Linked DNA regions of Homo sapiens: regions 1, 2 and 4 are each linked to region 3. Evidence: promoter capture Hi-C in 16 types of primary human blood cells and fetal thymus (Javierre and others, 2016). All regions are on one chromosome and are shown on one strand. The core of a region is centred on a gene start or on the middle of the fragment in contact, and the rest is flanking DNA. Distances in the headings are between cores, read along the strand shown.

Evidence for each region. The method cuts DNA at HindIII sites, captures the fragments that hold promoters and counts their contacts. A CHiCAGO score of 5 or more calls a contact.
Region 1: a contact is called between the fragment with the promoter of RAMP3 here and the fragment with the promoter of H2AZ2 in region 3, in 12 of 17 cell types (erythroblasts, total B cells, non-activated CD4 T cells and 9 more). The highest score is 8.6, in erythroblasts.
Region 2: a fragment that was not itself captured here is called in contact with the fragment with the promoter of H2AZ2 in region 3 in 12 of 17 cell types (total CD8 T cells, naive B cells, total B cells and 9 more); the score reaches 10.9 in total CD8 T cells.
Region 4: a contact is called between a fragment that was not itself captured here and the fragment with the promoter of H2AZ2 in region 3, in 1 of 17 cell types (monocytes). The highest score is 7.5, in monocytes.

Annotation. Positions count from the first base shown.
Region 1 is chr7:45,156,065-45,159,471 of GRCh38, forward strand. It overlaps RAMP3 (receptor activity modifying protein 3), which reads left to right and starts at 1,727. Exons shown (of 3, transcript NM_005856.3): 1 at 1,727-1,822. The coding sequence starts at 1,765. The HindIII fragment of the contact is 23,160 bases long and covers 1-2,456 here.
Region 2 is chr7:44,557,183-44,560,559 of GRCh38, forward strand. No RefSeq gene overlaps it. Among named protein-coding and RNA genes, the nearest start is that of DDX56, 15 kb to the right of the region's middle. The HindIII fragment of the contact is 4,749 bases long and covers 1-3,377 here.
Region 3 is chr7:44,846,786-44,849,879 of GRCh38, forward strand. It overlaps H2AZ2 (H2A.Z variant histone 2), which reads right to left and starts at 1,302. Exons shown (of 5, transcript NM_012412.5): 1 at 1,184-1,302. The coding sequence starts at 1,186. It overlaps H2AZ2-DT (H2AZ2 divergent transcript), which reads left to right and starts at 1,686. Exons shown (of 2, transcript NR_187581.1): 1 at 1,686-1,736; 2 at 2,674-2,780. RefSeq lists enhancers at 885-1,442, 1,443-2,001 and silencers at 928-1,317, 1,578-1,637. The HindIII fragment of the contact is 6,622 bases long and covers 1-3,094 here.
Region 4 is chr7:44,477,687-44,480,709 of GRCh38, forward strand. The region is part of intron 2 of NUDCD3 (NudC domain containing 3); the gene reads right to left. Among named protein-coding and RNA genes, the nearest start is that of NUDCD3, 11 kb to the right of the region's middle. The HindIII fragment of the contact is 6,664 bases long and covers 1-3,023 here.

The sequences.
Region 1 (3,407 bases), core at 477-2,976, 310 kb after region 3:
CAACCGCCTTTGGGGCTGTGGGACCGAGTGGAGACTAAGACTCTCCTGGAGAGAGCTGTAGGGCCGAGTCTGTGTGGGATGTGGGTGGACACCTGGGCCTGGACCATCCTCTTGGTTTGTCTTGGCTGGTGTAGGGTGTGCGTGTGTGTAAGCCAGCCCCCTGCTGCCCTGGTCAGCTTGTTTTATGACCCCTGGCCTGTGGGCAGAAGGCCTGGCTGTGGGCACCATCAGTCTCACTAGAGGCTCTGTGGCCACCCCTACACCTGCTGCCCACCCCTCAGGCAGAAGGCAGGACAAATGATCAATTTTAATTAGTTTTGACTCCTTTGAATTAATTCTGGCTGTAATCAGAATTTCTTCAGTAAAAAAGCACAGAAAGTTCTTCTCCCGAATAAGGGTCTTGTTAAATAAAGTGGGTCTTTCTAAGCCAGGAGAAGTTCAGCTCAGCTCCTGGGAAGGTAGCAGTACCTACGGCTCAGAGGAGTGGAGGGCCCATCCATGTAGGAGCCTGGGCCTGTGCCCCAACCTCAGACCAGCATGTGCCCCCAGGGGTGGTGGGTGGGCCCTGGAGGGCAGAGAGGTGCCTCTAGCTGGCTCTCGGAAGTCCTGACCAGTGACAATTCTTAAGACACCATTAAGTGTCCACTGGAGCCAGGGCCTGTGCTAGGGGCTGAGGGTGACAGAGGTGACCCATCTGGCCAAGTGACCTGTGGCTGGAGAAACTGAGGCCCTCCTTCGCCTCAGGGACCCTGACACTCTTCAAGGCCAGGTCTTTGGTGGTGCCAGATACTCTCCTGTCCCTTGGTTTGCTTGTGGCTTGGTTCTTGGTGTGTGATACGTCTCTGTGTGTGTAGTTGCCACACCCTCCAGTCTCTCTCATACACACTGTTTCCCAAGCATACACTCACAAACACACCTTGTCTCAGACTCAAACACACACATGCCACACACACACCATACATCACACACTCCATGCACACACATGCATCTACACACACCCCACATGCACATCACACACACGTACTCCATGAACAACACACACACGCACACACACAGACGCACACACACACACCCCCCAACCTCTTTTATGCACTTTCCTGACCTTTGGAGACCTGGCTCCTAGATGTATCTCTGCTCAAAGTTCCCCTCCCTGCCTGGGGGCAGCTCTGGACTCTGGTCTACTTTCGGCCAGGGCACACCTAGCCCACTCCCAGGTCCACCTTCCTCCAGTCTACCCCCAGACTCCTCTAGGCCATCATCAGCCAGCGCTTCATCCTCACCTCAGCTCCCTCCCCGGTCTACCCCCACCCTCTGCCCCTGAGCCTGGACGGAAGTTCCCCAAGTCTCTCCAGCCTGCATCCCAGCCCACCGTCAGCCGGCCCCCACGCTCACCCCAGCTCACCTCCCAGTCTGCCCCTACAATCTGCTCCCAAAAAGCTCCTTTGCAGCTCAGCACCCCAGCCCCGCCCTCAGAGCCCATCAGCCGGCACCCCACCTTACCCCAGCTTGTCCCCAGCTCGAAACCCTGCCCTCGCCCCCCTCTCACCCCGCTGAGACTCCAGCCGCCCCCATCCCTCCCACCCGGCGCGCCTGCAGGGACTGCACCCCACATCTGGAGGCAACGGGGCACGGCCGCAGGCGTGGTCTGGGGGTGCGGCCTGAGGGCGGACCCCCTGAGGCCCCGCCCCACCCCAACCCCAACCGGGCGTCCCCCAGCCGCGCCCCCAGCGGGACCGAGCGTGACCCAGCTGCGGCCGGCCAGCCATGGAGACTGGAGCGCTGCGGCGCCCGCAACTTCTCCCGTTGCTGCTGCTGCTCTGCGGTAAGGGGGCGACGGCCCGCACCGGGGGCGCCCCCACTCCTCGGGGTTCACCGGACCCGGGTGGACCCGCGCCTTCCCGCACCTGCGCCGCGGTCCTTCCCTTGCCCCGGAGCTCGGGAGGGGCGCACAGTGACCCTGGCGGGATTCCCAGGCTCTGCGGGAGGGTTCCACCCGGGAGAAGCTGAAGGCGAAGGACTCTGGCGGGCAAGGGAGGCACAGGGCCCCCTCCGGGGTCTTCTGACGGCAGGGTCCGGCAGCCCCCGGTCCTTCTAGTTGTGATGTCCCCCCACGCCCCGGTTCTGGGGTCGCCTCAGGGTGGGCGAGAAGAGGTGGACCAGGTCTGGCTCTTTACCCCTTATCCCCCAGGGTGGGCTGTCTGTAAGGTAGTGAGCTCTCTGTCCTGGCATTGAGTGCCTGCCCACCACTCACAGGGGCGTGGGCGGGTGGACTCCGGACTGGGTAGCTGGTCCTCCCAGGGCCCCTCAGTGTGTGGACGCCTGTGTGTGTCCTGGAACTGGCTGAGAGGGGAAGCGGGGCGACTCTCTGAGCCATCCTCTCCTAATGCCTTCTTCGGCAAGAAATCAGGACTCTAGGAAGAACCATTGCTCACAAAATGGAAATAGATTAAACTAAAAGCTTGTTTTGAAGTACCTTGCTAAAGAAATTATCCAAGAAAAAGTAAGAGAGAGAGAGAGAGAGAGAATGTGTGTAAAGGCTGTTGGGGAAGAGTGCTTGCTGAGGGCTGGGGTCCACTGAGTGGTGACTGAGCCTGGCCAGTTCTGGGGGGGACATTGGTGATGGAGGGCCCTGGCCTGGTGGTCCCCAGTTTCCCTGGCTGTAAGATGCAGAGTTGGGCCTGTTTTGATGATTTGGGATTTGGTACGGGAGGTGGGAAAAGGGTGGACCAAACTCAGTGGTCATTTTCCTTCCATTGAAGAGGTCTTGGTGTGCAGAACTTGTGTGGCTTCATTTGGTGTTCCAGGGCTGGAGCCTAGGATGTGGTGGATTTTGTGTTGAAGTGCAAAGGTGGATGGCAGCTTCTGAAATCAGGAGCATGCTGATTTGGGATTTCAGCAAACTTCCAGTGAGCGCCCCTTAGGTGGAGATCTTGGTCGCTATAGTGGAAGGAAGGTCCTCTCAATTCATTCTGGGAGAAGCTGAGGCTTTCCTGATCATCTCCAGTATCAAATTGAGAAGGACCACAGGCTTCCGCCTGCACAGAATCCCCCCTTAATAATCCTGTCTCTCGTGGACCCAGTTCCTGAGGGCCACTTCTTTGTCCTGTTGTGTTGGTCCTGACTGTCCCCCTCCAATGGGACATGGGTTCACGCTCCCTGGCCAGAATAGGGACCAGGTCCAGCTTCTCAGCAGACCCTCCCAGTGTTCGACTGGCCAGAGTGAGATTCAGGGAGAGGTAAAACTTGCTCATGGTCCCAGGCCGATGTGTCAGAGGTATCCGGGACTGGAACCCACATCTGCCCTGGATGCTGCTGTGTCTGGAAGGAAGGAGCTGGGTGGGTTCCTCTTGACTGAGGACTAGCTCAGGAGGACCAGCAGGGAGGGTGCAGGCCTCTGGGGCTTCTTT
Region 2 (3,377 bases), core at 90-2,589, 290 kb before region 3:
CAGAACAACTTACATTCCTTTGGGTATATACCCAGTAATGGGATTGCTGGGTCGAATGGTAGTTCTGCCTTTAGGTCTCTGAGGAATTGCCACGCTGCTTTCCACAATGGTTGACCTAATTTACACTCCCACCAACACTGTACAAGTGTTCCCTTTTCTCTATGACCTTGCCAGCATGTTATTTTTTCTTTTTTTTACTTTTTAATAATAGCCATTCTGGCTGATGTGAGATGGTATCTCATTGTGGTTTTGATTTCTGTTTCTTTAATGATCAGTGATATTGAGTTTTTTTTCAAATGTTTGTTGGTTGCATGTATGTCTTCTTTCGAAAAGTGTCTAGGAATGAGATACTGTCACCACTTCTATTCAACATAGTGTTAAAAGTTCTAACCAGAGCAATTTGGCAAAAATGAAATGAAAAGAAAAGAGAAAAGAGAGAAAGAGAGAGAGAGAAAGAGAGGGAGAGAGGGAGGGAGGGAAAAGGGAAGGGGAAGGGAAAGGGGAAGGGGAGGGAGGAAGGAAAAGAGTGTCCAAATTAGAAAAAAATTAAACTTATCTCTATTTGCAGATAGATTTTATATTCTAAAACAGTAAATACGCCACTGAAAATGTATTATAACTTGTCTGAGTGTGGTGGAGCATGCCTATAATCCCAGCACTTTGGGAGACTGAGGCAGGACAATCACTTGAGCCCAGGAGTTTAAGACCAGCCTGGGCAACAACGTGAGACCCCATCTCTACAAAAAATAAAATAATTAGCCAGGCATGCTGGCATGCCTGTAGTCCCAGCTATTCAGGAGGCTGAGGCAGGAGGACTGTTTGAGTCCTGGCAATGGAGACTGCAGTGAGCTATAACCGTGCCACTGCACTCCAGCCTAGACAACAGGGTGAGACCCTATCTTGAAAATTTTTTTTAATAAAAAAAATTACTAGAACTAATAAATGAACTTGGCAAAATTATAGGATACAAAATCAATACACAAAAATCAGATGCATTTCCTTCCTTCCTTTCCTTTCCCTCCCTCCCTCCCTCTCTCTCTCTCTCTCTTTTTCTTTCTTTTCTTCTTTCTTTCTTCCTATCTGTCTTTTTTCTTTTTGAGACAGGGTCTCACTTTTTCACCCAGGCTGGAGTGCAGTGACACGATCATCACTAACTGCAGCCTTGACCTCCCAGGCTCAAGCAGTTCTCCCACCGTAGCCTTCGGAGTAGCTAGGAGGGACTACAGGTGCTCATCACCATGCCTAGCTAATCTTCCCCCTCCCTCCTTCTCCTCCCCCCTCCCCCCTCCCCCCTCCCCTCCCCTCCCCTCTCCTTTCCTTTCCTTGACAGGGTCTTGATCTGTCGCCCAGGCTGGAGTGCAATGGCGTGACTCAGCTCACTGCAACTTACGCCTCCCCAGTTCTAAGTGATTCCCTTGCCTCAGCCTCCCGAGTAAGTAGAATTACAGGTGTGCCACCATGCCCAGCTAATTTTATATTTTTAGTAGAGACAGGGTTTCACCATGTTGGCCAGGCTGGTCTCGAACTCCTGACCTCAGGTGATCCACCCGCCTTAGCCTCCCAAAGTGCTGGGATTACAGGCGTGAGCCACTGCACCCAGCCCCTGGCTAATTTTTTTAATTTTTATTTTTAGAGATGGCATTTCACTGTGTTGCCCAGGCTGGTCTTGAACTCCTGGCCTCAAGTGATCCTCACTCTTCAGCCTCCTGAATTGCTGGGATTATAAGTGAGGGCCACCATGCCTGACTTTAGCACCACTTATCTTGACACATGAAAAAGATAAACCATTCTGTTCCCACTGTTCCTGCCATCTGGTGGTCTCTTACTTGCAGCTGTATACACTCCTAACTGATGTACCTGTAATTCCCTGCTGTCCACCACCTGACTATTAGCACCCCTTCTCCTACTGTTGCCCCACAGCAGAGTCCTCAACCTCAACACTACGGACATTTTCAACCACAGAACTCTCTTGTGGGGGCTGCCTTGTACATTGCATGATTTTAACAGTATCCCCGGCCTCTTCCCACCTAAAGCCAGTAGCATCCATTGCCCAGATATGATAACCTAAAATGTTTCTTGGCTGGCACAGTGGCTCACACCTGTAATCCCAGCACTTTGGGAGGCTGAGGCGGGCAGATCACTTGAGGTTAGGAGTTCATGACCAGCCTGGCCAACATGGTGAAACCCCATCTCCTAAAAATACAAAGATTAGCTGGGTGTGGTGGCACATGCCTGTAGTCCCAACTACTTGGCAGGCTGAGGCAGGAGAATCACTTGAACCCGGGAGGTGGATGGAGGTTGTAGTGAGCCAAGAACACACCACTGCACTCCAGCCTGGGCAACGGAGCAAGACTCTGTCTCAAAAAAAAAAAAACAACAATATTTCTATACTTTCCCAAAAGCCCCACTGGGGCAAATCTGGCCAAGAACCACCACCCTGCAGGAAGCCTGTGCTAAGCCAACTAATCTGCTCCCTCCACCCAGCTCTGCTATAACCAAGCCAAGCCTGTCTCTCAGGCTTCTCCGGGCCTTCCCAACGCCTGCGCATACAATCTCCTTGGCAGTGAGGATTTCTACCACCACCCAGGCCTGAGTGGTCTCTCCCTCCTCTGGCCATGATAGCAGGGGTTGGCTGTCTCCCTTGGCACTTGGCCTAACCATCACTGCATTCATGCATTTTGCTTCTAAAAGCTGAGGTCCTGGTTCCCGGGGCGGGGGCCATACCTCCTACACCAAGAATCCTTGAACCTATAGGGGTCCAATTTGTACATTTCGGTGATTGTATTAGGTACTTCGCTTCACGAATACAGCTGCAGTCAGGACCCGTTGCTGTCAAAGCCATAGACTCAGGACTGTGTGACCCTCCATCTCCCCACTGCTGGAACAGCCACAAGCAGTTCAGGAGCCTGGTCCCCCAGCCCACTGCTGAGGAGAAGGGCGTGTTGGTCCATGGAGGGGATGAGGCAGGCTGAATCTATAAAGGGTCGGGGGGTCCCAAGTACTTCCTGAGGGCTCCCTGAATGGGAGGATGGGCAGCTCTGCCCTGACTGTTGCTCCCAGCATCCCAGCTGCAGGTTCTGATGGAAGAGGGTCTTAGCCTGGGCAGGGCTAAGATGGTGAAGCCAGACCACTAGCAGGGGTAGCCACCAGAAATGGAGATCACATGTCAAGGCTGAGGGGAGGCAAGGTCTGGGGACTGGCCCTACATGCTTACTCTCTACTGTACAAGCATCAGTTGCTTCTCACATTCGTCCCAGCCCTGCAAGCTGATGGGTAGCCTTCATCCTGGACCCTTTGTCTTCTGTGATGGTCCCCCTCAACACAAAACTGCATTTTCTAACCTTGAACCAACAAGTTGTACAGTGAGCTGTGGGGAA
Region 3 (3,094 bases), core at 52-2,551:
CTATACGTGAGACGTTGGAAGCAATTATCCCTAAAGTCTATTCCAGCTCTAAGATTTGGGTTTTTTACAATAACAATAAACTATACGTTAGACGTTGGAAGCAATTATCCCTAAAGTCTATTCCAGCTCTAAGATTTGGGTATTTTACAATAACCAAACATTGTCCTCTCGACTGGCCAATCTGTTTACAGTTAGGTGTTATGTCTATTCAATACCATATCTGTCACATCAAGCACAAGACAAATCATCTAATACTATCTGCAGTATGATAAATGACAGCTTGGTGCTAACTTTTAAGCAGGTAGCTCCCGTTGAAGTAACCTTTCAACAGAATGCTTAAAGCACGAATACCGGCAAAAATAAGATTCCATAACAGTCTTATTATTTTTACACAATCTTTGATGCAACTCAGAGCGTATCCTTTAGCACCTTCTCTTTTCCCCTCAACTTTAAAATGGGGCTGAAGTTCTATTCACTTTCATTTTTTTAAAGCCACACTCTTCTTATCTAGATCTGAATTTCAGAATGAAAAGATGAATACTTTAAGACTGAAAATCCATAGCAAGGGCAAAGGAAAGTACTGTTGTATAATGAAAACCGCAAACTGCAAGGGGCTCAGAAGATAACGGGCGTTCATTTCTAACCTGTGCAATCACCTAGAACAAATCGTGTGGTTCTGGTCTATAAAACCATTCTTTGTCGCTCAAAAGACCACAAATACAAGCACCCTTTCGCAGAAACCCTCAAACTGACTGCCAGGGAGATTACGTAACCAAACATCGCCAAAGACTTATCTAACTTGTACAGCGGCAGCCTGTTTGACCTCATTCATACAGAGAAGCGATCACATTAAGATCCAGCACTTGTTTCTACATTTCCAAGCCGGATTCTGCCGTCCTCCTCCTTCTAAGACGGGCGGTGCAGCGTCACAAGCGTCGGGACAGATCTATCCGGCTCGGAACAGACTTCGCGCTCTACCCGGCCAGGCCCAGCTCTCACCCGGGGACCCGTGTCGGGCTCCGCAGCTGGGACATGGCGCCCCCCGGCGGGCGGCGAGGGGCTCGGCCGGACGAAGCCCAGACACCCGCAAACTCCCGACTCCACAGGTAGCGGCGCCGACGCCAGGGCCTCCGCGCTCTGCTCTCCCAGGCCCCGTGCCCCCGGCCCACCCGGCCGCCCTTACCATGTTCTCGGCGCCGACTCCGCCTCCGCTCGGCCGCGCGCCCTCCCGCTGCCGACCCGCGCCGCCGCCGCCGCTCTCGCAGCACCGACCGCCGCCGCCGGAGCCGGACAATACCCCGTGCCCGCCTCGCGCTGCTGTGGCCAATGCCCGCTTGTCTTGCTGGTTCGAACCCCAGCGGCTGTTCAATCGCGCGCCTCCTTCTAGCCAGACCCCGCCCCCCCGGCACCGCCTTCCTAACGGCTGTTTGTTTTTGCACACGGCACGCGGAGGCGGGGCCTCCAGCCCCAATAGTGACGCGCTCTCTGCCTTTCACCAGGCGCCCAAGCCTGACGAACAGAAAGGCAAACCAATGAGATTGGACGCCTCGCAGACGAAAGCCAATAAAAATATCGCCCGCGAGCAAGGGAGGCGGGCCACTGGGAAGGACAGCAAAATTAGCTAATAAGGTGAAGCGATTGCAGGCGCTGTGGCTTTCCCGCCCATTCGCGGCGTTGGTTTTCCCGCTTCTGAGACTTGTTTGGGGAGGTAAAGAGTGTTGGACGTGCTTCTCCTGGTGGGTTTTCACAGACTGTGAGGATTTATTCGTCTTAGAACGTGTGGATCAGGAGGGCGCTGGGTTTCAAGGTTAGGCAGGCCTCATGCTCAGCCGTATTCTGGCGGACTGACTACCCTGACGTCCTCTCAGCGCGGACCCTGACAAGGTCCGCGGCAGGCTGAGGCGGGAGAATCGCTTGAACCCCGGAGGCGGAGGTTGCAGTGAGCCGAGATCGCGCCACTGCACTCCAGCTGGGCGACGCATCGTCTCAAAACAAACAAACAAAAACAAAAGCTATCAATTGGCTACATATTGTTATTTGTATGACAAATTCTTTTTCCTTTTTTAGAGATGGAGTCCTGGGACTACAGGCGCGCGCCCCAATGCCCAGCTAACTTTTGTATTTTTAATAGAGACGGGGTTTCTCCGTGTTGGTCAGGCTGGTCTCGAACTCCTGACCTCAGGTGATCTGCCCCCCTTTGCCTCCCAAAGTACTGGGATTACAGGCGTGAGCCACCGCGCCCGGCATGTATTACAAATTCTAAGAACACGAAGATAATGGGGCCGGCTTGGTGGCGCGAACCTGTAGCCTCACCTACTGTCAAGACTGAGACAGGAGGATCTCTTGAGCCCAGGAGGTCGAGGCTGCAGTGAGTCATGATCGCACCACTGCACTCCAGCTTGGGAGACAGAATATACCCTGTCTAAAAAATAATAATAAAAAAAAAGGTAATGGATGAGGCCGATAGTCAGGAATGAAATGACTTTAAACAATTGGGTATGCATGGGATTGGGTATGTGTGTATGTGGGGGCAGAGGGTGGGCATAACCGAAGTCCCATACTCATGTCCCTCTAGGCCTAATACATTTTGCAGACCTCACAGAGCTCAGACTGTTGTGAGCCGTTTTTCTTTTCTCAACCTCTTCAGTGTGTTTATTTTGCTTACATCATTAGGTTAAAATTTGGAGGATAACTCCCAGCTAGAAAGGAAGAAAAGCTCTAAAGTGGAATCGCCTTCCCCCGGAAGCTGTTGTAAAAATTAAAGGATGTATGTGAGTGCACAGGCTCTCCAGCGATCGTTTTTCTTCCACAGTGTTAACACAATTTATTTATTTATTTACTTTTTGAGATGAAGTCTCACTCTGTTGCCCAGGCTGGATGGAGTGCAGTGGTGTGATCTGGGCTCACTGCAACCTCCGCCTCCTGAGTTCAAGCGATTCTCCTGCCTCAGCCTCCTGGGTAGCTGGGACTAAAGGCTCCCACCACCATTCCCCGCTAGTTTTTGTATTTTTAGTAGAAATAGGGTTTCACCATGTTGGCCAGGCTGGTCTTGAACTCCTGACCTCAAGTGATCCTCTCGCCTCAGCCTCCTAAA
Region 4 (3,023 bases), core at 320-2,819, 370 kb before region 3:
TGCAGACTTTGCGCCCCTCTCTTCCACAGTGCTAATCATGTCTGCAGGCACTGGTCACCCAGTCTAGTATTACATAAACACTGAGGCTCAAATGGCACTTTTTCACTTTTTACAAAGTCTTTACTATGAACAATTCTTTTTTTTTTTTTTTTTTTTTTTTTAGATGGAGTCTCGCTCTGCTCTGTCGCCCAGGCTGGAGTGCAGTGGCACAATCTCAACTCACTGCAACCTCCACCTCCCGGGTTCATGCAATTCTGCTGCCTCAGCCTCCTGTGTAGCTGAGATTACAGGCACGCACCACCACACCTGGTTAATTTTTTGTATTTTTATAGAGACAGAGTTTCACCATGTTGGTGAGGCTTGTCTCAAACTCCTGACTTCAAATGATCAGCCGGCCTCGGCCTCTAACAGTGCTGAGATTACAGGCATGAGCCACCACACCCAGCCTGAACAACTATTAAAATTGTAAAGCATCCTTACAGAATATAAGCACATTCTCTGATGCTATCTTGTGCAAATAGGGAAATATCTGTGTGCAAATTCTCTCTCTTCTCTGAGGAATAAGATGGGTTATTTACTTTGGGCCGGGCGCGGTGGCTCACGCCTGTAATTCCAGCACTTTGGGAGACCGAGATGGGTGGATCACCCAAGGTCAGGAGTTTCAGACCAGTATGGCCAACATGGTGAAACCCTGTCTCTACTAAAAAAATACAAAAATTAGCCAGGCATGGTGGCAGGCACCTGCACTCCCAGCTACTTGCAAGGCTAAGGCAGGAGAATCGCTTGAACCTGGGAGGTGGAAGTTGCAGTAAGCCGAGATCATGCCATTGCACTCCAGCCTGGGCAACAAGAGCAAAACTCCGTCTAAAAAAAGAAAAAGATAGGTTCCTTTAAGCCCTGGGGTGGGGGCATTTCTGATCTTCATTTGACATGCCCTGGCAGCAACAGTAGGGCAGAAACAAGAATGAAATTCAGACCAATTGTAGGTTATTAGTCAGGGAGATGCTAAAATCAGAGTGATGGTAAAATTAGGTCAAAATAAAATTTCCCCCAAATCACCCCAAAAATACTATAAATGAAACCTGTACATTATTATGTATAAATAACAATGTATGCTGCAACAGCTTTAGGGCAGAACACAGGCACAAGGTTGCCAGGATCTGGGAGTCTGGCACCAATGGAAATGTCATTGTATTAGTCCATTCTCATGCTGCTATAAGGACATACCCAAGATGGGGTAATTTATAAAGAAAAGAGGTTTAATTGACTCGCAGTTCAGCATGGCTGGGGAGGCCTCAGAAAACTTACAATCATGACAGAAGGGGAAGTAAACACATCCTTCTTCACATACCAGCAGGAAGACGTGCCAAGCAAAGCGGGAAAAGTCCCTTATAAAACCGTCTATGAGAACTCACTATCACGAGAACCACATGGATATAACTGCCCCCATGATTCACTGCCTCCCACCGGGTCCCTCCCATGACATGTGAGGATTATGGGAACTGCAATTCAAGATGAGATTTGGGTGGGGACACAGCCAAACCATACTGGTCATCTATCTTGACTGTGGTGGTTACAAGACTACATTTGTCCAAAGTCATAAACTGTATTCTAAAAGGAATGAATTGTATTGTTACATAAATTATACTTTACTAAAACACAAAACAATTGTCTGTATACAGTAATGAACACCTTACAACAAAAATGCATATATAGAGGCAGGAGGAGTACTTGAGCCCAGAAGTTCGAGTTCAGCCTGAAAAACACAGCAAGATCCTGTCTCTAAAAAAATAAAATTCAAAATACATATATACAAAATATAAATACATTATTTTTAATCTTGTTTCTTTCTTTCCCAGCACTTACACTGAATTTATTTAAATTAAATAAGCATGTGATGTGACTTTACTGTAGTATACAAAAAGGGAGTTTTTGCCTAATACTGGTTAGAACCGAAAAACATGTCAAGTAAGAGTCATCAGATATCAGCAATCTAAGACTTAGATTCTCAGATTTTAGACAGAGTGCTCACAAAAGATGGTGCTTCTGTGTGGTCTTCTACAGAATAACTACCTTAAATTACTCAATTAAAAGAACTGCAGATCTATAATTTATAGGATAAACCATCCTGAACACTGGTGGGAGGACTTGGGGTGCAGCTAAAGGTAGAACAAGGAAAAGGATGGTCTTTCACATTCTATTTTCAAATCTGCTAAAACACTACATTTCAGGTATAACTAGAGATCGGTGCCACAACTTCCTGTTTTGTTCAAGGAAAACAAGTAACTGAAGCTGAGAATGTTCCAGTCCTTGGAAAGGTTTGATTAGGATTCTTGCGGTACCAGTCTATTCTGAACAAAGAGCTACCAAGTAGAAAGGTTAGCTTTCCTGAAACATATCCAAGTCTTCACTCTATACTTATTTTTAAGGTAGAACTCACAAAACTAACTCTAATTCTAACCCAGAACAAAATTCACTGGTTCAAGAATTTTAAAATAGGGTCTCTACAAAACAACAAAGTAGCTATTCTAGTCTATTACTCAGAAATCAAAACCAATACCCTCCTTTCATTTTTTAGAGATCATAAAAGGAATACAAAAAAATTAATAAAACAAAATAAATGGTCATTACAGAAAAATTAGAAAATATAGTAAGGGACAAAGATAAAAATGAAGAACACTCACAATTCCACCACTCTGTGATTACTACTACTATTTTCTTCCAGCTTTTTTTCTACATACATAATTTTTAAAGTTTTCAAATTTGATATTAGACTATATAGTTTGAATTCTCCCCTTCTCACTTAACATTATATCATGAAAATATCTGTATAAGTCAAGGTTCCACCAAAGAAACAGAAGCAGCAGATATAGTCAGCCCTCGCTATCCATGGGTTCCATAGCCCAAATCAAAATATTCCCAAAAAATATTTACCAAAATATTTGCTGAGGATCAAAAATATTCCCAAAAAATGGCCAGGCATGGTGCCTCACACCTATAATCCCAGCACTTTACGAGGCTGA